5 separate regions of the Homo sapiens genome follow, and regions 1, 3, 4 and 5 are each linked to region 2. Evidence: promoter capture Hi-C in 16 types of primary human blood cells and fetal thymus (Javierre and others, 2016). All regions are on one chromosome and are shown on one strand. The core of a region is centred on a gene start or on the middle of the fragment in contact, and the rest is flanking DNA. Distances in the headings are between cores, read along the strand shown. Region 1 overlaps TOPAZ1 (testis and ovary specific TOPAZ 1). Region 2 holds the start of ZNF501 (zinc finger protein 501). Region 3 overlaps TOPAZ1 (testis and ovary specific TOPAZ 1). Region 4 overlaps TOPAZ1 (testis and ovary specific TOPAZ 1). Region 5 overlaps ZNF445 (zinc finger protein 445).

Evidence for each region. Contacts are between HindIII fragments. The CHiCAGO score rates a contact against its expected background, and 5 or more counts as called.
Region 1: a fragment that was not itself captured here is called in contact with the fragment with the promoter of ZNF501 in region 2 in 1 of 17 cell types (erythroblasts); the score reaches 6.0 in erythroblasts.
Region 3: a fragment that was not itself captured here is called in contact with the fragment with the promoter of ZNF501 in region 2 in 1 of 17 cell types (monocytes); the score reaches 5.2 in monocytes.
Region 4: a fragment that was not itself captured here is called in contact with the fragment with the promoter of ZNF501 in region 2 in 1 of 17 cell types (monocytes); the score reaches 6.1 in monocytes.
Region 5: a contact is called between a fragment that was not itself captured here and the fragment with the promoter of ZNF501 in region 2, in 6 of 17 cell types (monocytes, activated CD4 T cells, total CD8 T cells and 3 more). The highest score is 5.5, in monocytes.

Annotation. Positions count from the first base shown.
Region 1 is chr3:44,286,140-44,291,138 of GRCh38, forward strand. TOPAZ1 (testis and ovary specific TOPAZ 1) reads left to right here. Exons shown (of 20, transcript NM_001145030.2): 10 at 1,250-1,401; 11 at 1,608-1,700; 12 at 4,632-4,747. Among named protein-coding and RNA genes, the nearest start is that of TOPAZ1, 47 kb to the left of the region's middle. RefSeq lists an enhancer at 3,852-4,999. The HindIII fragment of the contact is 4,346 bases long and covers 338-4,683 here.
Region 2 is chr3:44,727,658-44,732,830 of GRCh38, forward strand. It overlaps ZNF501 (zinc finger protein 501), which reads left to right and starts at 1,978. Exons shown (of 3, transcript NM_001258280.2): 1 at 1,978-2,358; 2 at 3,819-3,903. LOC105377056 (a long non-coding RNA gene) reads right to left here and starts at 1,869. Exons shown (of 3, transcript XR_940788.4): 1 at 1,135-1,869. RefSeq lists an enhancer at 1,789-1,858. The HindIII fragment of the contact is 3,071 bases long and covers 1-2,828 here.
Region 3 is chr3:44,327,844-44,333,579 of GRCh38, forward strand. It overlaps TOPAZ1 (testis and ovary specific TOPAZ 1), which reads left to right. Exons shown (of 20, transcript NM_001145030.2): 19 at 407-590; 20 at 3,949-4,255. The coding sequence ends at 4,168. It overlaps LOC105377055 (a long non-coding RNA gene), which reads right to left. Exons shown (of 4, transcript XR_940782.4): 3 at 2,977-3,026. Among named protein-coding and RNA genes, the nearest start is that of TCAIM, 8.1 kb to the right of the region's middle. The HindIII fragment of the contact is 4,796 bases long and covers 1-4,034 here.
Region 4 is chr3:44,307,808-44,313,126 of GRCh38, forward strand. It overlaps TOPAZ1 (testis and ovary specific TOPAZ 1), which reads left to right. Exons shown (of 20, transcript NM_001145030.2): 16 at 2,018-2,183. Among named protein-coding and RNA genes, the nearest start is that of TCAIM, 28 kb to the right of the region's middle. The HindIII fragment of the contact is 4,121 bases long and covers 1,323-5,319 here.
Region 5 is chr3:44,468,425-44,473,568 of GRCh38, forward strand. The region is part of intron 1 of ZNF445 (zinc finger protein 445); the gene reads right to left. Among named protein-coding and RNA genes, the nearest start is that of ZNF445, 6.7 kb to the right of the region's middle. The HindIII fragment of the contact is 1,563 bases long and covers 2,812-4,374 here.

The sequences.
Region 1 (4,999 bases), core at 1,261-3,760, 440 kb before region 2:
GGAAGGCAGAGGTTGCAGTGAGCTGAGATCATGCCACTGCACTCCAGCCTGGGTGACAGAGCGATACTCTGTCTCAAAAAAATAAATAACTTAATGACAAAAAGGAGAAAGGTTTCATGTCAATTAGTGGACTATTTACACACTGGCTAACATAGATTAACTGCACCTTTTTGAATGTCTGCAATTTCAGTTTTATTAATAAGCTATAATAACACTGAGTTTACCGTTTTATCAGTTGATCAGCTTCTGTATAGGCGACTATATAAATACTGCCAAAAGTATAGCAGCAAGAATTTATCTGTATGTGTCCAGGGAAAATAATTGTAGTATATAAAAAAGCTTTACAAGAAATTTGAATATTGTTATACCATATTATTAAAGTTTTAAAAATTATTAAAACTTTAACATTAATTTTTCATTTGTGCCACTGAACTTTGTCAGTAGCTACTGGCTTTCCTAAACAATACCAGGTAATCCAGCTAGTAATAAATATTTCTAATAGAAGTAATTAACACAAAATAAAACCAAAAGTATTTTTACTAAGGCAGTTAAGGTATACAGATTTTAACCTGGGAAATTTTGGAATGAAGAAAAAAATGATCAATGAAAGAATCCTAATGTAAATAATTTTAGTAAAATTAATGGGGAAAAATTGGAAACATCATGTTACATAGAAAATTAAGGATTTGGATGGGCATGAAGGAAGTACTTTCTCAAAGAAAACTAATCAGCATTGTTGTAATTTTTAGTAGAATGTTCCACAATCACAAACTGAAATAAAAAATATCCCCATCCATGACAAGGCAGGGAGAAGTTAAAAATAATGTCAACATGTTGGTGGGTTTAAAGCAACAAGCATGGGTATGTGTCAAAACAGTCTGCATCCATCACCAAACTATATAACCTTGCATATGTACCAAGGCTACTGCCTCAAGACTGCCTGGGAGCTTGACTCTGTAGGAGCTCATATTGACGCTATGATGTATGGGAATGGCAGTTTGGACCTATTCTTTGCAGGTAGCACATGGGTTACTTCATGCTGAGCATGCTTGGTTGACTTCAAATATTATTGCCATTTTGACTTTTGCTTTAATTTTCATCTACTCTTTCTAATACTAGAACTGTACCTTTCAAGAATTTACATTGAATTCATATTATTTTATCTTTATATATAGAAAAATTATCAAATTTAAGAAATACAGATATCTGAAGCAGCAAATGACTTTAGTATATATATTTTCATTTTCAGTAAACATATTTATGGAGTACTACAGAAAGTTTCCCCCAGGTGTATACTTTGATTTACAAGTGCTAAATGACCTTCTAAATTCTTTACTCAAACATTGTTTGTTGAAAGAAGTATTTCAGATAGTGAACCTCAGCATAATGGTTAAAATGCTGGTAAGTAGCCTGAAAATATATGTTATTTTAATATTTTATGTTAATTTCTCTGTCATATTCATTGTTTGAACTTAGCAGTTGAATTTCTGTATTTGTTGAATACTTCCTAGAAACCACTTGTGTTTTTCAACATAAATGAATTTGAGAAATTTAAGGTGTACTAAAAGAAGATCTGAAAATGAGTGTAATTTTTTTGTTTTATCCAGCCTTCTCTGAAAATATTACTAAACATATTTGAGTATGTGGCAACTATGAAATTAAGGAATGCTGTACCTGCTTTAATTGATATCTTTTGCAAGGTATGGTTTTATTTTCTCTTTTATTCTCTGATGGCGAGTAACCAAGAAAATAATTGTTTCCATGGGGGGGTACCCTTGAGCTGCCTTTTATTCACATTCTGGATGCCAAAGAATTCTATTTCCAGAAGTATTCTTTTTCTCTTGAAATAGGGTTTATAAAAAAAGAATCCAGTGGCTGATAAGCCTTCCTCTTAAATAGTTTCAGACACTCAGATTATTGCTTTTTGATGTATGAATTGTCTTCGTCTCTACTCCGTAAGGATGATTAAATAAAATTTTCTTTCTCTAAAAGACTTGAGATCATTTACAACAGAAATAAACAAACCAAAAAAGACTTACAAAAATATAAAATTCAACTTTTGTTAAATACTTCCTAGTATTTGATACTACTCAATCGTCTACTTCAGAATAGGCCTGATAGGAAAACTGCCAGTTTTCTTTCAGAAGCAACATTGGAAGAACTCAAGCAGAAGAACAGATATGTGAGTGAATACCTCAGATTTCACATTACAAAACTTGACAATTGCTTGCCTAGAGATGTTTGGAATCAAAAGTTACTGATTGCCAGGCGTGGTGGCTCACGCCTGTAATCCTAACACTTTGGGAGGCTGAAGCAGGCAGATCACAGGGTCAGGAGTTCAAGACCAGCCTGACCAACATGGTGAAACCCCATCTCTACTAAAAACACACAAAAAATTAGCCGGGCATGGTGGCGCACTCCTATAATCCCAGCCACTCAGGAGGCTGAGTCAGGAGAATTGCTTGAACCTGGGAGGCGGAGGTTGCAGTGAGCCAAGATTGTGCCATAACCTAGGCAACAGGGCAAAACTCCATCTCAAAAAATAAAAAGTTACTGATAACCCGTAGAGGTTGTAGAAAATCTCAGTAAGGATTCCATAAATTGTCTGATACTGAATAACTTGGCTTTCTGCAAAATGTACCCCGCAGTGACTGTCTAAATAAAATTACCCTTAGTGGAGAATATCTAACAAAGACAATGATTTTCATTTTTGCATGGCTAATATGGAGCCATCATTTCTGGAAGTTGTTTAAAACCAGTGCCAATTTCCCTGTTAAGACTATTTCAGGGTTCAGTAATAACACCATAATATCATCATGGAGAAAGATGCTTTTCCTCCTCTTTATTCTAGCAGTGTACCATACTCCATGTATTTAACAAAAATATCACTGAGAAAAGATAATTAACATTTTTGTCCTGCCTTAGATTGTTACCTAGTCTGTTACAATTTATATTTACCCTGGTCTTTGAGCAGTGTTAAAGGGCAGAGTTTTTAAGGCATGTCAGTTACCAGATAACTGATTTGTTCTCTTGCAGGTTTGTTTATAGTTGGCCTTGTTCATTTAGTCAAAAGTCGTTGCAAGGTCAGTGAATACAGTTAGACCACCAGTGACCCTTTCAAATGTTGTAGAGCGTAACAGTAAAAAAATCATGATGTCCAGTCCTTTACTTCATGATGTTTGGAAAACTATTTGTTAAGGTAGTGGATTGGTAGGTTTAGGAGAGGAGCTGTTTTCCTCTTTTAAAATAAAATTGAGCATGCTTTGAATCTAGAGGAGCTAATAGAGCTTAAGGATTAGAGCCTAATCTTTAGAACAGGCTTTAAATAGTCATTTTTACAGGATTTTTTTTTACCAAAACTATTTTTAGTTAAAGTTGTTGAATAACGTGTCTTAGGGTAGCATTTCTAGGACCCATTCAAAAGGGGCCGAGTACCACTAAATTTGAGACAATTTTCCTTGGAGTTCAAAGGTGGGGAAAATCTCTCAGCAGCTTGTTACTATTGTCCTTCACTAAAAGAAATTCTATCTCAAAATATATAATTGTGAGTTCTAACAGCCAAATTACAGCATCTCACATTATACCTTGAAACAGGTAGCTTCTCCACTTACCCCTGGTATTGTTTTGTTATCCTACCCCAAATTCTTATTTCCTAGTACTCCCTTCAGATCTATACTGGAGACAAAGCATACATTCTCCCAAACATTCAAAATATATTTTGATATTTAAGTAATTTCTTAAAAGGGGAATTTTTCTGAAAACCAGAATAGAACCAAATAAAATTCTCAGCAAAAATATTGCTCAGAGAATTTCAAACACCACTCAGTTGAGTCATTCTTAACTCTCTAAATCCTTGTCCAGGGTAGCTAGTCATAATACCTTTGAAGTATTATGGAGGTATTGGAGGACCTAGTCATTATACCTTTGAACCAAGGTCAAGAGGATCATTTGAGCTGGGGCAACTAATAAGACTGCCAGCTCACAACCTTGTATCTTCCCACGTTTCCAGGATAATGTCATGTAGAAGAGCTGTCAGAAAAGGCCTGCCTCTCATTCATCTATTCTCACACTAGAAGTGTCCAGATATTCCCTTGTTGGTTCTCTTCATTAGCGTTGAGGCTCATGAAGAAGACAGGAAATGAGTCATATGTGAATGACAGATAAAGCCTTTGAATTGGTATTTTTTTAATTACGTGCTATGTTACATGTGGGCAGTTGGTCCACCTGAGTGATTAATTTATCAAGGAATCACTGATTCTTCTCTGGCCATGGCCCTATGTGAGGCACAGGAACAATACTTCTCAGGAAGTTTATAATCAGGGATGAGGTATGAATACCAGTCCTAGATTAGAAGACAGACTGAGTACTAAATAAGAGGTATATATGATAAAGTGGTTGAGATAACTTAGAGAGCAGGAAGAAAATCCAAAAACTTAATATTTTCATTTTTGCTTTAAATTCTTAGGATATCTTTTTGTGGTTCTGTGCCTCAATTTTTTTAAATGAGTTTTATTCCACTTGTCTCCATGTTTCACTTCTTCCATTAGTGTCTTAGTTGTTTCACACACATTGGCTCCTCAATTCTGTCACATTTTTGTAAGAATAACCACTCTTTCTTTTCTCTTCTACAGCTTGTTGAAGCCGGGATGGTGCTTGACCCAGAGCACTTTAACTATATTGTTAAGCTTTTATACCAAGTACAAGCTTCCAAACAAGAAATAACTGCAGTTCTGGAAATGAAATCGAGGTGAGAAAAATCATTATTATTTAAGCCAAAATATATGTGTCTTGGTGGGGACTTATAAAAGCTGAAGGCAAAGCTCTAATAACTGTTTGTATGCCCAAACATTTAGATAGTGGCCTGTCATAAACCCTTCTCCTGTCTCTTGGCTGTGCCCTACTTTAGTCAAGCTGCCTGTGGCCAGCCTCACCTTATTTTTCTTAGTACTTCATTTCCTCTCAATGTCCTGCTCATCAAGTGTAAAAAGAGTGTCTTTTA
Region 2 (5,173 bases), core at 728-3,227:
ATTAAACTCCAGATTACGGTTTCTAGTAACCTCAGGTGCCTCCCTCCAGACTTAATGTCCTCCACACACTACACCCTGCTGATTTGGAGACTCTTTGAAGCCTAATGTTTGGGGAATGAATAATTAGACCTAGGGTCTCTGGCCTGTGAGATGTTAGGGCTGGAGGGAAGAACTTGCTATCTGATTCCAAAGAAGTGCTGAGAATGTGACACCTGGAGAGGGAAACTTAACATTATTGTTACATGGCATGTCAACTGACAATTTTACAAAGGGTCACTTTTTAGCCAAAGATAGCGATGGCCTCAGTCTGTGGCACCAGCATTCCTGATTTGTGTCCAAAAGGGACTCCATTTTGGGAAAACAGCCAATCTGAAGATTGGAATGGATATTTTTTTTTTTTTTTAAGATGGAGTCTGGCTCTGTCACCCAGGCTGGAGTGCAGTGGCATGATCTCGGCTCACTGCAAGTCCGCCTCCCAGGTTCAAGTGATTCTCCTGCCTCACCCTCCTGAGTAGCTGGGATTACAGGGGCACACCACCACGCCCGGCTAATTTTTGTATCTTTAGTAGAGACGGGGTTTCGCCATGTTGGTCAGGCTGGTCTCAAACTCCTGACCTCGTGATCCGCCCCCCATGGCCTCCCAAAGTGCTGGGATTACAGGTGTGAGCCACCATGCCTGGCCTGGAATGGATAATTTCTCTGCTGCATCTCATTAATTTATACAGCAAGTGTTCACTTCTATATGCTGCACACTAGGGATATGATGGTGTGCACACAGCCCTATTGTCCTGAGATTGCAGATCAGTAGGAATGCTTGGAAGTGAATAAGGTACTCTCCACTCATGCCTTTATCTCTGGACTTTACCTGTCAAGATGAGCCCATGTGTGCAAATATTTCCTGAGTTAGAGCCAGCAAGATCTGAAGTTTTGTAGAAAGGGATGGGTGTGCTACCTTGAGGCCCTGAAAGGTCAGTGAAGTCAGGGCAGAACAATAGGTACTGGAGCTGGGATTTGAGACACAGACAATAGTCCTAACATTTACTGAAGATTTAAAAAATACTAGATGTTCTTAGTAATTCACACGTATTAACCTCACTTAATCCTCACAACAACCCTGTGGTACCATTATTATACCTGGTAAGTGAGGAAGCAGGCACAGAGAGGTAAAGTTGCAAAGTTCATACACTGAGAATCAGGGATTTGAGCCCAAAGCAGTGTTTGATTTGTTTTGTTTTGTTTTTGAGACAGAGTCTCACTCTATCACCCAAGCTGGAGTGCAGTGGCTCAGTCTCTGCTCACTGCAACCTCCCCCTCCCAGGTTCAAGTGATTCTCGCGCCTCAGCCTCCGGAGTAGCTGGAATTACAGGCGCCCACCAGCACACCCGGCTGATTTTTGTATTTTTAGTAGAGACAGGGTTTCTCCATGTTGGGCAGGCTGGTCTTGAACTCCTGACCTCAGGTGATCCGCCCGCCTCGGCCTCCCAAAGTGCTGGGATTACAGGAGTGAGCCACCGCGCCTGGCCTGCAGAACTTTTTCTTTTGGCCACCTGAACAAAGATCCTGGGTCAGTAAGGTGTCAGGGGTTTCTGTGAAGAGGTCAGTTTTCTTCCAGATGAGGATGTGTGTGAGGAAGGTGGAAGCCAGTTTTGTGAAAAGCCTTGAGAATCCCCAAAGGACAGTAACATAGGAAGCTAAATGTGGCGGACTTGCAGGATGAACTGATGCACAGTAAGAGCTCCTTGTGGTCGACCCTTCTGACTTCCATCCCGTTTCCCTGTGCTGGAAGACGCACGCCAGGTGGGGTCGCAGGTTGTTTCTGGTGCCGGCTTAACCGGCGCAGCACCGAAACCCGTAGCTGCGTGCGGGAAGGAACCACCGAGCGGAAGCCGCTCCCACCTTCCTAGAGAGGAGACGGTAGTGGTTATTAGCCGAGGCGCGGACTGCTGACGTCACGCCGGCTGGGCGCGTCCGGGACTTACTCCTTTCCGCAGGGCAGCACCCAGGGACCTGAGTGTTGCAAGGTGCGAGAGGGGAGCGCCGCGGGGAGCGCCGCGGGAAGCGCATGGTGAGCGGTTTCTGCTGTGCCCGGCTGCCGCGGGTCGATTCCAGCTCCTCCCTCGGGAAGCAGGGCGTTTTTCTTCCTGGAGGGCCTGTGGAGCGGAGGCCCGAGGCCTAGGGCAAACTTGCCATGAAGAAAGGAGAGGCTGTTCGAGAGCCCTAGGCTGGGAGTCGGAGGACCTGGGTTCGATTTATACATACTTAAGCATGTCAGTGAACTTCTGGGCACTTTAGTTTTCTGATTTCCAGAAGTAAATACTGTTTCCTGCCTTGCCGTTTCCCAAAGTTGTGCGGGTTGAAGTAAGTATATGCAAGAATTAGTGCCTTCCCTTCATTATTTATTCTTCTCTAACAACAACAAAATAGGTACCGTATGAAGACATGTAGACTCAATACTTTAACAGCAGGCACTATTTATTGAATGCTTACCAGCTGGCATTCTTCTAAGTAGTTGCCATGTAGTAACCCACTTATTCATTACGACAACCCTATAAAGTAGTTACTGGTATCGTCTCCATTTAACAGTTGAAAAAACTGGAGCAAAAAAAGGTTAGGTAACTTGTTCAAAAGTCCTAGTCCTGGAGCCCATGCCATACTTGTAAGTTTGCTGGTGGAAGACAGAATGTAATCAGACTAGAAAGTCCTACAGTAGAAACTTGTAAAATTCTTTGAGAATGTAGACGAGGAAGGGCCTTGGAAAAGTCAAAATTTTCCCACAAGGAAGAGGTGTGAAGTTTCACATTTGAGCTAAATATTAAAGGTTGACTGCAAGCTTGAAAATAATTGCTGGCTTATTTGACCAAATGAGGAAATAAAAGAGACGTTTGAAAATAATTAAACAGTTTGTTCAGTGTCAGTTAAGAGATGCTAGTGGATTGGGATGTATTAGACAGGAAACCAGGTTCCTGCCTTTGAATACAGTGTTCTTTGCATTAGGAGGGTTCTTGAAACCTTTCCCTTATGAAGAGTCCTTAACATCTTACAGCAGATACTCCTTACACAAAGGCAATCCTCTTGTTATTTTCGAGAAATTCCCCCAATTCTAATTGTAGGAGGATAACTGACAGGAAGTTTCCCTGCTGTTGATTCAGCCCGTTCTTAACAAGACCCATTCACCTCACGGCTAGCTCATTTAGTACTTTTCAAATAAATGAATAAACAGATTCAATCAAAGATGGACTGGAAGGGCTTGATTTGAGGTTTTTGCTCTTTTCCCATCTGTATATAGAATCAAAGCTTTGTAGAATGTTGATATTACAAGAAGCTTTAAATATTATCTAGCTTTTCAATTTCATTTAACAAATAAGAAATGGATGAGACTGAGTGACCTGTGTTAGGTCATTGAACAAATTGGTGGCAGAGCTGAGACTAGAATCCACACCTCTTGACTGAGTCCATTACTGGTCCTACTGCCCTCTATTGTAGCCCTGCAGCATTTGACTTTTGAAATCAATGGCTTTTCCAGTAGACTTAGGGGAGCCATTGGGCTCCAACCTGATGTCGTATAAAGAAATTTTTACGCCCAGATGCTTAGTCCTAGGAAGGACCTGCCCTCTTTGTACATTGTCACATCTCTCTGAAGTCTGCCAACTCACTAATTTTTGTCACTGGAGATACTCCTCTAGGATAATAACGATATTCTTTCATTTGAACTTAAAATGGTCATTTGGTTAGAGATGGGATGTTCTTGAGTTACCCTGAATCTAGAAGGTGTAGGAAGTAGGCTGGCAATTTATGAGTGGCTCTTTTTCCTCCCTCAGTGCCTCAAATTCCTGCCTTTCCTCAAGAGAAGAGCCCCCAGGAGAAAAGCCAGTATTGCTTGTGCTCCTAACAACCTGTCTCTTGGTAAGTTAACTCTAACTAGAGAGCCCAGGATGGTGGTGGTTGTGAGACTACCATCAGAAGTGATGGCAGACCTATGGTGGGACCCACCAATGTCCACTAAATGTGGACCCAGCAGAAAATGCAGGACCACACAGAAATGGATACCATTTTACTCAAATCAGTGAGGGTGGCCCACTGTGAAAACGGCTATGGAATAATTGGTTATGGGACAGGTCCTAGAGTGCACTAAGTTCTTATCAGAGTACCTGAACTGAAGACTCTACAGTCATCTGGTAGCACATCTTTAAACCACTTATTGAACTGCTCAGTATGATGCCTTAATGGTGTAGTGGTTGGATCAAGGAATATGGGTAGTAAATTATTGGAAAACCCATTGCAAATGTGATTAGGTATTTCCTCAGAGAATATGGAATGGGCTTCTGGCCATGTTTAGAACAAGAGCTTAAGTTATTGCAGCTGACATTGTCACTGGCAATCAAAAGGCAACATGGAGCCTGGGTGTCTGTCAAACTCAGTAAAATAATTCTGGGTAAATTGTATTCTTAGGTTATGGGAACTCTGTGAAGAGAATATGACTGTGTCCTGAAGAATTTGGATTAGTTTAATATGTATGCATAATATATGTACACTTATGTACGTATTTATGTTTATATGCATCAAGAGATACCTAGAAGAAGGTCCATTAAAATACTATTATTTTCTGTGGCTGGGTTTCAAGTGATTTCCTCTTCGGAGTAGCTGACCATTTAATAGAATGAGCATGCATTCTTTGTATGATAAGAAAAAAACCTTTTTATTTTGGAAAAATGAGAGTAAAGGAATTAAAAATGTGCTTAGAGTTTTGGTTTTACATCTGGTTGCTTAAACCAACTGGAGTTTGTTTTTGTATATAGCATATCCATGTTGTAAGTTAATACATCAGATAAAGATAGGTTTAGGTAAGATAGTCCACATATTTAACAAACAGTATGGTACAGGCATTGCCCAAGCAGGTAGTCGTGAACAATTTGTACAGATATAGCAGTGTGTATCATTTGACTCTCAGCCCCAATAGATCCATATGTACCAACATGAAGTGATCTCTAAGACACATTTTTTAGTGGGAAATAAAAGCAAATTGCAGAGCAGAACCTGTAGAACAATTTCATTTATTTAAAGAGAATCAAGTGATATATGTGTATAGAAAAATGTGAAGAAAAAAGGAATGAAGGAAGATACTTCAAACTTGATAATCTCTGGGGAAAGGAATAGGTTTATTTTGTTAACAAAA
Region 3 (5,736 bases), core at 387-2,886, 400 kb before region 2:
AAGTGATTCTCCTGACTCAGCCTCCCGAGTTGCTGGGACGACAGGCACCCGCCACCACACCCAACTAATTTTTGTATTTTAGTAGGGATGGGGTTTCACCATGTTGGCCAGGCTGGTCTCAAACTACTGACCTCAAGAGATCCACCCGCCTCAGCCTCCCAAAGTGCTGGGATTACAGGCATGAGTCACCACACCCAGCCCTTCTCACTTTTTATTTAATGTTTCAAAAGCACTTTACAAAGAATAATGCCAAATATACTAGGATAAGCTATCATGTAATTTGTTAATCTACTTCTAATGTGAAGACTTATTCTGTGTAAGTAATTATCGCCTGTAGGTATTTCAGAAATCTAGGTTTTTACCTATTGGGTTTTAGTAAAGTTTGACCTATTATTTGATTTTTCAGGTGCTCTTTCCTTGGGTTGCTACCCACCATTGGAAGGAAATTTATACCGAAAACTTCTTCTAATTCCATCTTATTTATCTGAGATTGAAATGCTCTTAGCTATTGAAATCTTCATGGTATCTAATGCTAGTAGTATTCAGAGTCCTGGAACTTCTACACAGATACTGCAGATAGTTTTGAAAAGGTTGGTTGACATAACTTTAACTGCATTCTGAATGTAGATCATGACTCCCCACACCCACCCTAAGATGTAAATGTTTTATGTGTTTTTATACATACATATATATTTATGTATATATTTATATATGTACTTTATGTGTGTGTATTGCAAACTCTGATATCATTTAAACTAAGAAAGGATTAGACCTGTTTGAGGCTTAAAACCAAACAAGTTAGTAGCATTCGGTAAACACTTTAGCAACTTCAGAGATATAGTTAGATGTTCAAAGAGACGGATCCTCTTTAGGTACCAACCTTTCTTGTGTTTAGAGATCAGTACCTATAAAAATCTTTATCTCTAGTCAACTCAAAAGATCAAAGGACTAGGGTCTAAAAGGGAAATACGTGATCAGCCAAGAATACCATTGAAAATAAAGCCATCAGCCTAGTTTCTATATTTTATAATGCTATATATGCATAAATATTATAAAGTAGGTACTGTACCAGAGTGACACCCTTTCACGTAATTTTGTTTAGAATCCTAGAATTTAGGCATACAGTAGATGGTGTGCCTAAATCGTGGTATGCCATACGATTTCTTGTCAGCTTTATCCAGGAAACTTGCAATATAAGGATCTCCTGGGAATCCTGTTTTAGAGCTTCTTGACAAGAATTTTGCTTCAGTTTACTGGTGTGACAAACCAGATCCTCTGGTTGAATATTACATTAGTTATCTGTTGCTATAGAATAAATTATCCCTGGACCTAATGGCTTAAAACAGAAAATAGTATCTTAATATCTGTGGGTCAGAAATTTCAGAGAGGTTTAGCTGGATGGTCCTGGCTCGGGAATTTTCATGTGACTCAGTTTTTCCACATAGTTGGAGTCAAGATGTTGTCAGAAACTTTAGTCACCTACGTGATAGCTTGCTGGAGCTAGAGGATCCTTTTGCTAGATGGCTCACTCAAATACCTGTTGGGTGGAAGCCTCATTTCACCACATGGGCCTCTCCATAGGTTGGTTAAGTGTCTTCATGACATGACTGACAGCTAATTTCTCCCAGAATGAGTGATCCAAGAAAGAAAAAGCAAGGAGGAAGCTGCAGGGTCTTTTGTGACCTATATCAAGCAAGAACTGTGAAGAGTCTGAGATTTTACCCTATTGCAAGCTACAAGCTAACCTGCCACAGTTTCATAGATGGTAGCATAAGACACAAGACTCCTGTGTCGGAGACAGAGGACTTCATTATTTGTGGTACACCAAACAGCATGATTATCTACGTATTTGCATCATTTCCTCTTGCTCCTAAGTCCCATAGATGGGCCTACATGGATACCTACATATGCCATGAGTTCTGTAACAGGAGAGGAGTACCCAGCTTAGGAAACCCAAATATTTTATGAGTAACAGGCATGCCTGCCCTTTGCTTTGCAGGGAGGTACTGTCTCCATCATCTAAGACTGTGAGCAAACCTGCCCTTTGCTCCAGAAGAAGAAACTATCTTTATCTTTCAAGGTTGTTCACTGTATAATCCTTGTAATTTAGAACAAAGGGTAGGCAGTGACTCTTGCAAAACTTCACAAACTCAAGAGACCCATGGAGAGTTGTCATCCAACAGCCTACTATCCAAAGTTACATACTGTCACTTCTGTTCTCCTTTTTTGTAGATGAGTCTTTTGATCCAGTCCACACTTAAGGGGAGGAGAATTAGGAAGTAAATTATTTTAGTTCCACCTTCAAAAAAACCCACTAAAATTCACCTTTTTTCTTATAGTTCTTTTTTTCAGAGGGCTTCCTTATTTACCACTGTGCACTATGGTGGATAAGGCATCTAGGCTCCCCATCATCCTAATGAGGTCATGGTTTTCTCATAGCTTTCTATTCCCCACACACATGCAACTTCTTTGTTTACTTATTGAATTTGGAAGGTATTTGTAACCATAGTGCATAACTAGTGACATACCTAAATCTTTGATTTTGTCCAAACCAATATATTTTCTCTATTGTCATTATCATGCTAAGCCCTGCCTTGTTACATTTACCTCTCTCTATGAGACAGAATTTTATTCATCTTTAGACTTTTTAAGACTGCACATAGTTGGCATCTGCACCACCTACCAGATTCCCGGGCACCTCTTTCAAAGCTAGAATGTACTAGAAGGTACCTGACCAGTCTTTCCTCTCTCTGACCACTGGTTCCTGTTTCAAGTGCAAGTCCTCACTCCTGTCACTCTAGACTACACTGTGATGTTAATGCAGATAGGCTCCTACTCAGAACTTGCTGCTGGGCCTGGTAGATACCAAGAGTAGGAAGCAGTGAACACAAAGAAAAAGGTGATACTTAATGTAACAGCCACACCTCTATTTTAAATAGTTCCCATTCCCTACCCCAGAGGAAAAAACTGACATACCGTGTGAATTTTATGCAGGTCAGTGCAGTCACAATTGATTGCAGATGGCGCTGGTAGAAAAATTATTAGAAAAATTAATTCTGGCACTTAAGGAAGCACCTTAAATCAGTATTGAAGAAAATAACCAGAAATATAATAAAGCCCCTATAGCTATACAACTTGTTACCAAATATTAGCTACATATTAAGTATTTGCTTATAAGTAAAAATAGTCAATATCAAAGTAAAACTTAACATGTGAATGTTAATTCTAAACTGGATTACATTTAGTATTTTATGCATTCTCATGAATAATTGTAGTTATTCACTTTCAAAATACAAAGATTTAGGTAATTAGCTGTGTTCTAAATCAGTATTTTTCAAACTGGGTTGCAGACTATTTGTGTGGTGAAATCAATTTAGGGTGTTACAACCAGTATTATTTTTAAAATCAGGGTTTTTGTCATCAGGGTATAAGTCTTGTTTTGTCAAATTTATTTTTTATGTATGAAGGTATATACTGGGCCATAATATGTCTTTTTTTTTTGGACAGAGTCTTGCTCTATCACTCAGGCTAGAGTGCAGTGGTGCAATCATAGCTCACTGCAGCCTCAACTTCCTGGGCTCAAGGCCTCCTCCCACCTCAGCCTCCTGAGCAGCTGGGACTACAGGCGCACATCACCATACCCAGCTAGTTTTTAAATTTTTTGTAGAGATGAAGGTCTCACTGTGTTGCTCAGGCTGATCTTGAACTCCTGGCCTCAAGCGATCCCCCCAACCTGAGCGTCCAAAGCGCTGGGGTTATACCACTATGCCTGGCCAAAATGCCTTTCTTACTGTGGGTCATGATCAAAAAAGTTTGAAAGCCACTTTTAGAAGAACATGGTGAGAAGACTATCATAGCTTAGTACCAGTAAATGTAAATGACTATCTTTTGAAGAAACTATATAGCTTTTTTAAGAGTTTCTGACTTTATGAGGTGTTCATTTTATAGGTGTGAAGACAACCAGTCTCGGAGCAATGATGATTATCAAGCTGCAGTAGAAAGGTTAATTATGGCTGCTCGTATATCAGATCCAAAGCTTTTCGTTAAACACATGACTGTCAATGTTAATAAGGAACAGGTTTATAGTTTGGAACATTGTTCTGCCCTGAAATGGTTAAAAGAGAATATGAAGTGGGCTGGAAAGGTTTGGCTTTTCAGTAACCATTAGCTAATAAAGTCTGCTTTTTTTTTTTTTTTAGTTCAAGTAATCATTGTTGAAAATAAAAGGCAATAAAAATAGACAGTTTTCACTATATTCAGCTCTTTGACTTTATTGACTTACAGCAAGTTAATAGTTTTAAAGCACTAAATTTTTATTGATATGTAATTTTCATTGATTTTATTCACACAGAAAAGTGACTTTTCAGATTACTTTTTGACTTTAAAAGAAACTAAGCATGGTAAATCCCACTTTATTCTGAAATCCAAAACTGAATACTGTGCAGCATTTAGTAAGAGGGAGACATAATAGGGAAAATATGCAAGCAGGTAACTGGAGTTTTCAGGAAAACATTTAGGGGTATGAAATAGGTTTAGTGTGTACTCAGTCCAGTCTCTAAAGCTGTACTACATCTGTAATCGAGAATAATAAAACAATATTGAAAATGAACACAAAAATTCAGAATACTTTCTGAATTATACCAAAAAGTTTAAATTACCCTCTGAATAGTTTTCCTTTAGTGTATCTTGGAATACTAGATGAGTTTTGAAAATCTATGTGCATTACACTAGATAAGACACAAATATACCCAAAACTTAATTATCTAAACAAGGATTCTTCCTTCCAAACCAATTTAGGAAGTTAAAACTCTTCTGAAGTCATATTCAGAATCTGTATCACATTCTCCAAGGTGGTAATCCTCATCTTTGATACTTTAAACCGTAATTTAAAATTATTTAGATTTTAAAAAGTGTGAATAAGGTGAGTAATAAGTTGCGATTAAGGGGACTGAAAGTTTTTTTTTTTTTTTTCCTGAGAAAGGGTCGTACTCTGTGCCCAGGCTGGAGTGCAGTGGCATGATCAGGGCTCACTGCAGCCTCAACCTCCCAGGCTCAAGCAGTCCTCCCATCTCAGCCTCCCATGTAGCTGAGACTACAGGTATGCGCCACCATGCCCAGATAATTTTTGTTTTTTGGTGTTTTTTTTGTGGTTTTTTTTTTTTTTGAGATGGGGTTTTGCTATGTTTCCCAGGCTGGTCTCAAACTTCTGGACTCAAGCTGTCTGCCCACCTTGGCCTCCCAAAGTGCTGGGATTACAGGCATGGACCACCGTGCCCAGCTGGACCAAAAGTATTTCTTAAGGGAGTTCACAAAATATGGTAAATAGCAGCATCATTGGAATAAGTCTGTAACATCACAAGACTAGGAAGGTTAAATCCTAGCTCTTGCCAAAATGCCTGATTACTATCGATGAAATGTAGAACGAATACTATCACAAATGGGATATGGGGAAGTGAGGCAGGTGACGTCAAGAAGGATACCCAGTTCTTTAGTAAGAAGGAACTGGGTGACTATAACCTGCCATTACTTCAGTGGAGCACCTAGGAAATGAATTAGGTTTGGAGATCATTTTGAGGCACCTTTGAAAACAAGGGGAGAATAGAAAGTGGGCATTTGTAAATTAGTCATTTCTACAAATGATAACTGAAACCCTAAGAAAGGAATTAGAGAAATATGTGACCACTGAGATGCTGGTGGCAAAGAAGTATTAGGATGAAGATGCAGGAGGGAAAGGAT
Region 4 (5,319 bases), core at 2,133-4,632, 420 kb before region 2:
GGCTCAAAAGTCTTCAGGAGGCTTAGCTCTTATTGTGTGGTAGGCCTGGAGTAGGCAAGGTGTACCTTGTGTTTGCTCTCACAATTGAGCTTAAGGTTGGTCATAGCATTAATTTCTTGACTATTTAGTGCTTGGGAATTTGAGGACTATCTAACAAGAAGATCCTTTATAAAAATTCAGACTGGGCCAGGAGCAGTGGCTCACACCTGTAATCCCAGTACTTTGGGAGGCTGAGGCGGGGGCATCACTTGAGGTCCGGAGTTCAAGACCAGCCTAGCCAACATGGTGAAACCCCATCTCTACTAAAAAATACAAAAATTAGCAGGGGGTGATGGCGCTAATCGGGAGGCTGAGGCAGGAGAATTGCTTGAACCCGGGAGGCGGAGGTTGCAGTGAGCCGAGATTGCACCACTGCCCTCCAGCCTGGGTGACAGAACAAGACTCCATCTCTTAATGCCATCCCTCCCCCCTCCCCCAACCCCATGACAGGCCCCAGTGTGTGATGTTCCCCACCCTGTGTCCAAGTGTTCTCATTGTTCAATTCCCACCTATGAGTGGGAACATGCGGTGTTTGGTTTTCTATCCTTGCGATAGTTTGCTCAGAATGATGGTTTCCAGCTTCATCTATGTCCCTACAAAGGATATGAACTCATCCTTTTTTATGGCTGCATAGTATTCCATGGTGTATATGTGCCACATTTTTTTAATCCAGTCTATCACTGATGGACATTTGGGTTGATTCCAAGTCTTTGCTATTGTGAATAGTGCCGCAATAAACATACATATGCATGTGTCTTTATAGACTGCATCTCAAATTTAATAAAAGAGAAACTCAGACTGATTTTGCTGAAATTTTAGAGTATATTTTAATTTTATTTGGTTATTATTTGAGACATTGGTAGATTGGTGAATTTTATCTATTTTAATTAAAAATTTTAACTACTTTAGAAAATTATTTTATTACATAGTATGAATTTTTTAATGAAACCTATTCCTTTTTGAATGTAAAAATAAAATCATTGACAGTAAACTAAACATATCCCTTTAAAAATGCACTCTTTTATACAGTCATCTTGAAGGTAGCTTGACATCATAATAAGCATCTAATTCAAATATTATAGAATATAAAACAAGGGTCTGTACACTAAGGCCCATGGTCCAGAACTCACCCAAAGCCTGTTTTTGTACAGCCCTCAAGCTAAGACTTTTTCACATTTTTAAAGAGTTATAAATTTAAAAAACAACAATCAAAAAGAATGTACAACAGACTAAATGTGGCCTGCAAAGCCTAAGCTACTTACTATCTGGCCATTTACAGGAAAAGCTTGCTGGCTCATGGTATAAAATAATGATATATGTCCAATTTCTGATGTCCAAACCAAAGGTAATTTTCATGTAGAATACATGAAATACTTAGTCTACGGAATTAAGAATTTTAGCTAACAAGTTTATCCTTTTTTTCACTATCATTCTTTGTCTAAATTTTTTGGAAGGTAGGGCAGGGGTTTCACCACACTCCCCAGGCTGATCTCAAACTTCTGGGTTCTAGTGATCATCCCATCTCAGCCTCCTCCTGAGTATGTTTAAATTTGATAACAAATTATTTTCATTTTTACTTTCTCTCCCTCCTGGATCCCAGATTGACCAACAGAAGAGGAGCAAAAACATATAATCAGTAGTTTTCTATGCTAAATCATGGAAGCCTTTCATCACATGAAATCTTAAGGAGAAGTACAGTGTATAAAACAAATAAAAAGAAGGCTTCTGATAAAGGGGGTCTGGTGGTATTGGTGGGAAGAGGTGGTTAATATGAGGCAGAGCCTTGCTTGTTCCTCTTTCCCTTTCATCTGTATGGCTGAACAGGAAGGGGCTTAAGGAAAGAGTCTTGGAGCAGCTTAACAGCCAGCAGTCTAGGATGATGATTCAAACTGGATACTTGGCTTGTGAATAATTATCAGTGGCTTTGTGTGTTTGTAAATGATTGATACCCAATTAGTGTTCTTTATTTTTATTCTAGGGAAGGAAGGTCTTAGAGAAACTATATGAATTAAAAATACACTTTACAAGTTTAAAAGGACTTATAGGGCCTGAGAAGTTAGCATCAAGATGTCAAATTGTGAATGTTGCAGCAGAAATTTTTCTAAAAAGTGGAAGCCTAGATGGTGCCATTTGGGTAATGAGGGGTAAGTCCTGATATATGCAAGCATAAAATAATTCGTTATACTTGTCATGCATTTTTGTCTATGTAATTACCTTAAGTTGATATTGAACTGTGGTTAATAGTTTGGTCTAAACCCTAGTGAACATGTGGGTAGGAAAGGTTGTCATGTAAACTGAAAGGGGAAAGTTAACTTAGCCTTAAAGAAGAAATTATATAAGCCTTTGTTCATTTAAAAACTAGTTCTTGTTGGGCCGGGTGTGGTGACTCATGCCTGTAATCCCAGCACTTTGGGAGGCCAAGGCAGCGGATCACCTGAGGTCAGGAGTTTGAGACCAGCCTGACCAACATGACGAAACCCTGTCTCTACTAAAAGTACAAAAATTAGCCAGGCATGGTGGTGGCCGCTTGTAATCCCAACTACTCAGGAGGCTGAGGCAGGAGAATCGCTTGAACCCGGGAGGCGGAGGTTGCAGTGAGCCGAGATCGCGCAATTGCAGTCCAGCCTGGGCAACAGAACGAGACTCCATCTCAGAAAAAAAAAAGCAAAACCTAATTCTTGCTATGGCCTAGGCTCCATATTAATGCTTTCCCTGAATTATCCCAAATAATCTTCATAGAACCCTGAATTTGGAACTATTAAAATCCCCATTTTATTGATAAGAAAATGCTGTCAGAGATATTAACCAACTTGCCCAAAATGACATAATAAGTAAGGAATGGAGGCCAAATTCAAATCCAGACAATCCAGCTTCAGAGCCCAGGCTTCAGCCGCTGTGTAAAATGGAAATCCTGATTGCAGTGTGCGTAAACTCTATCTTCATATGTATGGGCAAACATGACTTCAAACCAAGATGAGTAGAGCTTACTTTCCTTGATAAGGCAATTCTTCTAAGCAGAAATTACAGTGAAATTAAGCCAGCAGGAACAAATAAGGTTAGTTTGGTATGAGAAAAATTAAAAAGAGCACAATAGTGTTACGATACTAATGAAGCTAATGATAGCGCTGGCTATTTGGACCATCAGGCAGATTTTATTTGATAAAGTGGGATAAGAACGAAAAAACCTCAAGGATCTCAGGAGTTTAGGTGGGAAGATGGAATCAATAAATAAAGCAAATTGAGAACTGTAAAACACACTAACACACAAACACTAGCACATATATATATATTCATATACATGTGATTCATATATGGGAAATATATGTATATAAAATATCTTGTATATGTTCAGTGCTGAGGGTTTAATACAGAGGTTGTGAGTAGGCTTCATTCAAAAGCTCGTTTGTAAAGGTATTCTTCAACTTAAACATAGTCAGTGAGGTTTCCTAAGTGGGAAGAGTACCAAAATACAAAAATGGAAATTAATGAAATATAAGCCAGAGCTCACAAGCTCTGTGAAGAAAGAAGCGATGTGTCAAGAAATGGGAAGGTGAAAATAGTTTATAAAAATGAACTTGGGTCACCTTACGATAGGAACCTCCTGTCTGAAAGTTTGTGGCAAAACCAGTCTTTCTCAAACTAGAAACTGGGAGAGTTTGTGGGAGAGATGTGGAGTGATCTTTGGAGATTTTGTTTTAAATTTCAATGTTTCCGTTTTAGACTAACTTTAAACTTCTATCAATTATAAGCAGTATTCTTTTTTTTGCAGTGACAGTTTCAACTAAAAGTAATTTTCATAAGTAAAATTTTATCTCTACAAAAGAAGAGGCCACAGAAGTATGCTCAGTTGTTCCTAGAATTTTTTAATTCTTAAAAGGGCTCTATAGTGAACAGGCCATTCCCAAGAAAGGAAATACAAATGGCTCAATCTCACTGATAATAAGTGAGATTAATACTCACTTGTAATAAGAGAAATATACATTACAATTACAAACACCATTTTGAACCCATTAGACTATCAAAGATCAAAGTTTGGTGATATGCTTTTTGTGAGGGTATAGAGAAATAGACATTCACAGAGGTTGTCTTTAGGAGCTTTTTGGCAAAATAAATGTCAAAAGTTTAAAACACATTTTTTTTTCATTTACTAATTCCATTTCTAAGAATTTGTACTGCACACACATTTATACCTGTATACAAAGGTATGCATATTAAATTATCTGGAATATTTTGTTACACCAACAATGGTAACAAAGAATTCCAGGTAGCTTAAATGCTCATTAAGGGAATACCAGTTGAACTGTGTTATAGCCATATGATAAAGCAGAATGAGGCAGATCTGTAAGTGTTCATTTGGAATGATCTTCAAGACCTATTGCAAAGCCAAAAAAAAAAAAAAAAACACAGGAATGTACAGAGCAGTTGCTACCATCCGAATAAGAATAATAATACAATGGACAAATACGTATTTGCTTATATACCCTTAAAATATGTGTAGAAGAATGCACAAGAAACTAGTAATAGTGGCTGACTCTGCCTCTGGAAGGAGAAATTGAGTGCTTGGAGGACAGAGTAGCAGATTAACTTTTTACATATATTTTTCCTTTTTAAAAATATGCTTTTATTACCTACTGAATTTGCAAAAGATGGAGTTACATACATTACTCAAGTTTGAGAAATGCGGAATATCTCACACATTTTTTTGTTTGGTGAGTGACAGATTTGATGGCGAGAACAAATCTATTGTTTTGGCATTTCACTTTGACATTTCAAACTCTTTCTCATACTAGTGCTTTTTATCCTGCAAATGAGCAACAGATTGCTACCATGCCATCTCCCAAAACCAACATAAAAAAGTCTTGAAATATAAAATGGTTTTAAGACTATCATTTTATAATCCTTGTTCAGAGGCTGAAAAATAAGTATCTTAGTTCTCTATAATCAAATTTTGTAAAAAAGTTATGCCATTTATTGAGAAACTGCCTTTGAATTTTGAAATAACTTATTGCCTTTGTATAAGTAATACATATTAATAAATATGAAAAGCTGGATAAGCAAAACTAATGTTAAAAATCCCATATCATTTGGTCACCCAGAAATTGCTATTATCCACTTTAATGTTGTTATACCGACACTTTTATACTCTGCATTTTTTTCAGGCAGTAGCCTTTCAGTGAAAAATTTTTCTACAGCATCACTTACTAGGCTGCATGGTTTTCTATCTTATAAATAGACAGATGGATAGATCTGTCTTTTGATCCATGAATCCACTTTTACTGA
Region 5 (5,144 bases), core at 2,343-4,842, 260 kb before region 2:
TCTTTCCCAAAGCAGATCTCCTTCTTGCCTGGAGACTAGATTGCCTTTGCGGGACTAACATTAGCCACAAGATTAGAAATTATGGTTTAGGAGTCATGCAGCTGGAGGTTACAAGATTCTGACCCTCCCTAAACTGCTCCTAAGATCAGTGCTTGAGGTATTTTGCAGCCCCTGCACTTGATGGATTAGCTGGCACAACCCAGATCAATAAACTGGCTCATCTGATCTTGTGGCCCGCCCCCACCCCTCCACCCCCTCCCCCCGAGGAGCTGACTCAGCACAAGACGACAGCTGTGACTCGCTATGATTTCATCTCTGACCAATCAGCACTCCTGGCTCACTGGCTTCCCCCAACCCACCAAGTTATCCTTAAAAACTTTGCTCCGCAAATGCTGGGGGAGACTGCTTTGAGTAATAATAAAACCCCAGTCTCCCACACAGCCGGCTCTGCGTGAATTACTCTTTCTCTATTGCAATTCCCATCTTGAATCAGCTCTGTCTAGGCAGCAGGCAAGGTGAACCTCTTGGGAGGTTATAAAAGTGTAGCATTTGGCCAGGTGCAGTGACTCATGCCTGTAATTCCAGTATTTTGGGAGGATAGTGAGAGTCTGTCTCAAAAAAAAAAAAAAAAAGCATTTTATAGGATGAAATACTCACACACCTAAAAGGAATGTACTAGAATTGTTATACATCAACATAACTGCTTTACTGTACACCAGGTGATAAGGCTCTGTAGCCAAAGTTACAAGGCAACTAGGTGTCACCCAAGGAAGAGACAGTGTATGACTTGAGGTCACTGAGAAAAGACACCACCCCCACCAAGCTCAAGAGGTACAATGTTTACTTATGGAGATGGAGGGTTCACAAGATCCAGCCACTTGCAATGTGTTGGTCCCTCGTGGCCAGCAGAACCACTCCACAGTCTACACAGGTGGTGTGTGTATACACGCTTCATATTGCAGTAGAAAGACCTTAACCCCTCCTCTGTGGGGTCTGAAATGAAGAAAGATAGGAACATGCATGACGGCTGCTGATTCATGCACTCAGAAACAGAACAAAGGAGGCCTGGCATGGTGGCTTGCACCTGTAATCCCAGCACTTTGGGAGGCTAAGGCTGGCACATTACCTGAGGTCAGGAGTTTGAGAACAGCCTGGCAAACATGGCGAAACCCCATCTCTATTAAAAATACAAAAATTAGCCAGGCGTGGAGACGTACAGCTGTAATCCCAGCTACTCAGGAGGCTGAGGCAGGAGAACCACTTGAACCCAGGAGGCAGAGGTTGCAGTGAGCCAAGATCGTGCCACTGCACTCCAGCCTGGGTGACAAAGCAAAACTCCATCTCAAAAACAAAAACAAAAACAAAACAAAACAAAACAAACAAAACAAAGGAGTACATCAAGTGCAGAAAAACAAGATAGTCCCTCACAAGATGTGACACCTACAGTCACAAGATGTTAAACCCAGCAAAGGTTGTGAGGACTCTTTCGCTCTTGTAAGGAAATGTCTCAGGCCCGAGGCCACTCTTTTTTCTCACTCTGTCATCCAGGCTGGAGTGCAGTAGCACGATCACAGCTCACTGCAGCCTCAAACTCCTGGGTTCAAGTGATCCTCCCACCTCAACCTCCTGAATAGCTGAGACTACAGACATGTGCCACCCTCACTCTGCCTGACTTTTTTTTAGCGATAGGGTCTCACTATGTTGCCCAGGCCAGTCTCAAACTCCTGGCTTCAAGAGAGCCTCCTGACTTGGCCTCCCAAAGCACTGGGATTACAGGCATGAGCCACAATGCCTGGCGTCCAAGGACACTCCTACACAGCCAAGTAAGGAGAGAGAAACTGTGCACGACTGCTTTTCCCAACAATAACAAAAATATGTGCTAAGTTTGAAAGCACATCCTAAATACGAATTGTGAAAACAAAACGTACAACCGTGTGTGTGTGTGACTGTATACGCATGTATGTGAATGTACCTATAACTACTCAAAGAAATTTTAAAAGCCTGGAAGGATTCACAAAAACTCTTACTGGTGGTGGGGGTAGGAAGGTAGAGAATTGCATTTAAAAGCAACTTTATATTTTTTTTGTCTTCTATTTCCTAAAAGAAAAGAAAATTGAAAAGCAATTATTAGAAAGCATAGTTATACTGTCATTTATGTCTTAAAGCAAATGAAAAGCAAAGCAGTTTACATATGCACATAAAAGCTCCTAAGCCTCACTACCAAAGTATTTTTAGCCATGATTTCCTCTGGGAGGTGGGATGAAAGGGCTCTCCTTCCTTATTTGCCTATGTTGCCTAAATTGTTACCCATTACATTTATAAACAGCAAAGTGATCAATAATTCTCTTAAGAAGCAAAGCAATTGAGTAGCAACTCGTAGGATTGAAGATGGCAGATGCACAGTAGAAGGGACAGCACATTCTTGAGGGGGGACTTGAGTACAAACCATGGCTTCAGCTCAAGCAACTACAAAAGGATGTTCTCCAGTTGAACAGATGTAAGGAGAAAAAAAAACAGGCAAGTGAGGTAGAGAACAAGAAGAGCAAAATGCTACCAAAACACAACATGCAAAACAAAAATAAAAAACCTATCCAGAAAGAAAACAGAAACAAAGAAAAGGAGTAGCCAGCAACAATGGAAGAAAAAAAATAAAAGTTGAAGAAAAAGAGAAATACAAGCAGTGCTGCCATTAATGTTCCACAGACACAGGATCAGCTGACTCTGTACAGATCACCTGCATCCAGAATTTCTCTAATATGACTCTTGGTTCAGTCTAGAGAGCAATCTCATCAGTATCTTCTTGTCCCTAAAAGCTTCTTTATCTAGAAGTAAAAGTACCCAGACATTATTGGTGGAAAAGATCCATCAGTAACAGCCATCAATCTACTCCAGGATCCAAATATGCCCATAAATAGCCACTGAACTGACAAACTAAAGACTCATGAGAGAAGAACTGGAGTGTCTACAAAAAGTGTGAGATGGACAACAGGTCTCAGAACTTGTTGCAAAGTGGCCCCACTACCCTGTGCACAAAGTCACAGATGAAGGTCATATCCCCTGAAAATGCTGACCCCTTCCATCTCCCACCACTGTGAAGCAAATGTAAAAGGAGTGACACTTATGAAATTAAAAGAGCCACCACCTTCTACATTTGCTCTGAACTAATACCTATCCAATGTCCTCTGCTCTCAGCAAGTGCTGCTAATACTGTCAAAAGAAATGACAGTAAACTAAGATGTAAAGAAGACTCACACTAGAAGGCATGCAATCATCCAGGGATAAAAAAGAAACTACAGCCCTACTCTATGGGCCAAGAAGAGGCAAGAAAAGAGCTACATTAGGGATCACACATGCTGAGGAAGCTGCTACAGTTCTGGCAGAGAACTGAAGCCTTGCTGTGAAAAAGGGGAGTGGAGTAAGAATAAGTATTCAAAGGAAAAAAAAAAGGGAAAATGAAAGAAGAAATAAAGTAAATAAATGAAGGCCTATAAAAGGAGACTCGAAGACTGAGAAGCAGTGGGAGCTTCAGGACCAAGAGGAGCAGGCTCCAGCCTCGGTGCGTGCCAGCAGCACAAAAGGGAAGGAGAAACACCTGATCAGGAGAAAGCTGAAAAACAGAAAAAGAAGAGAGACTTTCATGGCCAAACTTGCAGAACAGACAGAAGAGAAAGAAAACCAAAGTATGAAAAGAACCAAAATGCTGCTAAAGATGAAGATAAATCTGGCAATTAAGTTAAAGAGAAAGAAATTGAGGCCAGAGAGAAACACTTTTAAGAAATGTACCCAGTGAAAAATATAAATGGCACTGACCAATCTCAGGAAATTGACACCTACAGTCAAATTAGCTCCAAAAATAAGTCTCCAAGCAGGACTGTTCTGAAGCAGCTGCTGCACAAATGTCCAAAAGGGTCAGTGACTTTTTTTTCCCCCCTACAACAGCTAACTTCCAGATTTTTGGAGGAGGACGGGGGAACAAGGGTTTCACTATATTGCCCATGCTGGTCTTGAACTCCTGGGCTCACACAATTCTTCTGCCTCAGCCTTCTGAGTAGCTGGGATTACAGGCGCATGCCACCTTGCCTGGCAGTAATGTATTTGTAAAGAGGTGATGAGAAGACTGACAGAAAATTCAGGGCGAATGCCTGTGAATATAGTGAGGATTCCAGTCCTTGAGTCAAAGAAAGGTTAGCTCAGCCTCTGCAATCATGAACATGAATAAAGACCTCACGGGCCTCTCAAACTCTGAATGAAAGACCCAGAGCATAGTGAACATACAGCTACCTCAGCAGACAGCTGAGCCCGCCAATGAAATTCAGGTATCTTAATGCCACAGGCTTCTCCCAAGTCCCAACTAGCTTTTAAGCATAGAAGAAAAGCTTCATTTATCTTCTTGCTGAGATTATATCACAATTACACTCAGAACTGGGAAGGAACATGAGCTGGATCTTATTCTCAGGACTCTCCCCCCAGAGCTTTATACCTTAACCCAGTTTCATTCCCACAAAGAAAATGGCTTTGAAAAGAACAGGGAAACTTCCAACCAAGATCTTGATATTTTTCAAGGAGATTTTCTTCTGTTACATTGTTTCTTCACCTCATGGCCAATGTAATTTCTTTGTTTTCCTTTTAATGTCCCCATGAGCTAGTCTCTTATTTTTGTGTTTTCCTACCAGTGTAAGTGTATAGAAGGTATATAAACTGATATTAAGCAAACAGGTTTCCAAGATAATCACCACTTAAGAAAAAATGCAGGCCGGGCGCAGTGGCTCACACCTGTAATCCCAGCACTTTGGGAGGCTGAGGCGAGATCATCTGAGGTTGGGAGTTCGAGACCAGCCTGACCAACATGGAGAAACCCCGTCTCTACTAAAAATACAAAAATTAGCCGGCATGGTGCTGCATGCCTGTAATCCCAGCTACTCGGGAGGCTGAGGCAGGAGAATCGCTTGAACCCAGGAGGCGGAGGTTGCAGTGAGCCGAGATCATGCCACTGCACTCCAGCCTGGGCAACGAGAGTGAAACTCCACTTCACACACACACACACACACACACACACACACACACACAAAAAATGCTTTCAGTATATATTTAAAGCCTTAAAATAATATTTATATTCATTTACCAATTAAGAAATAAACTAATAA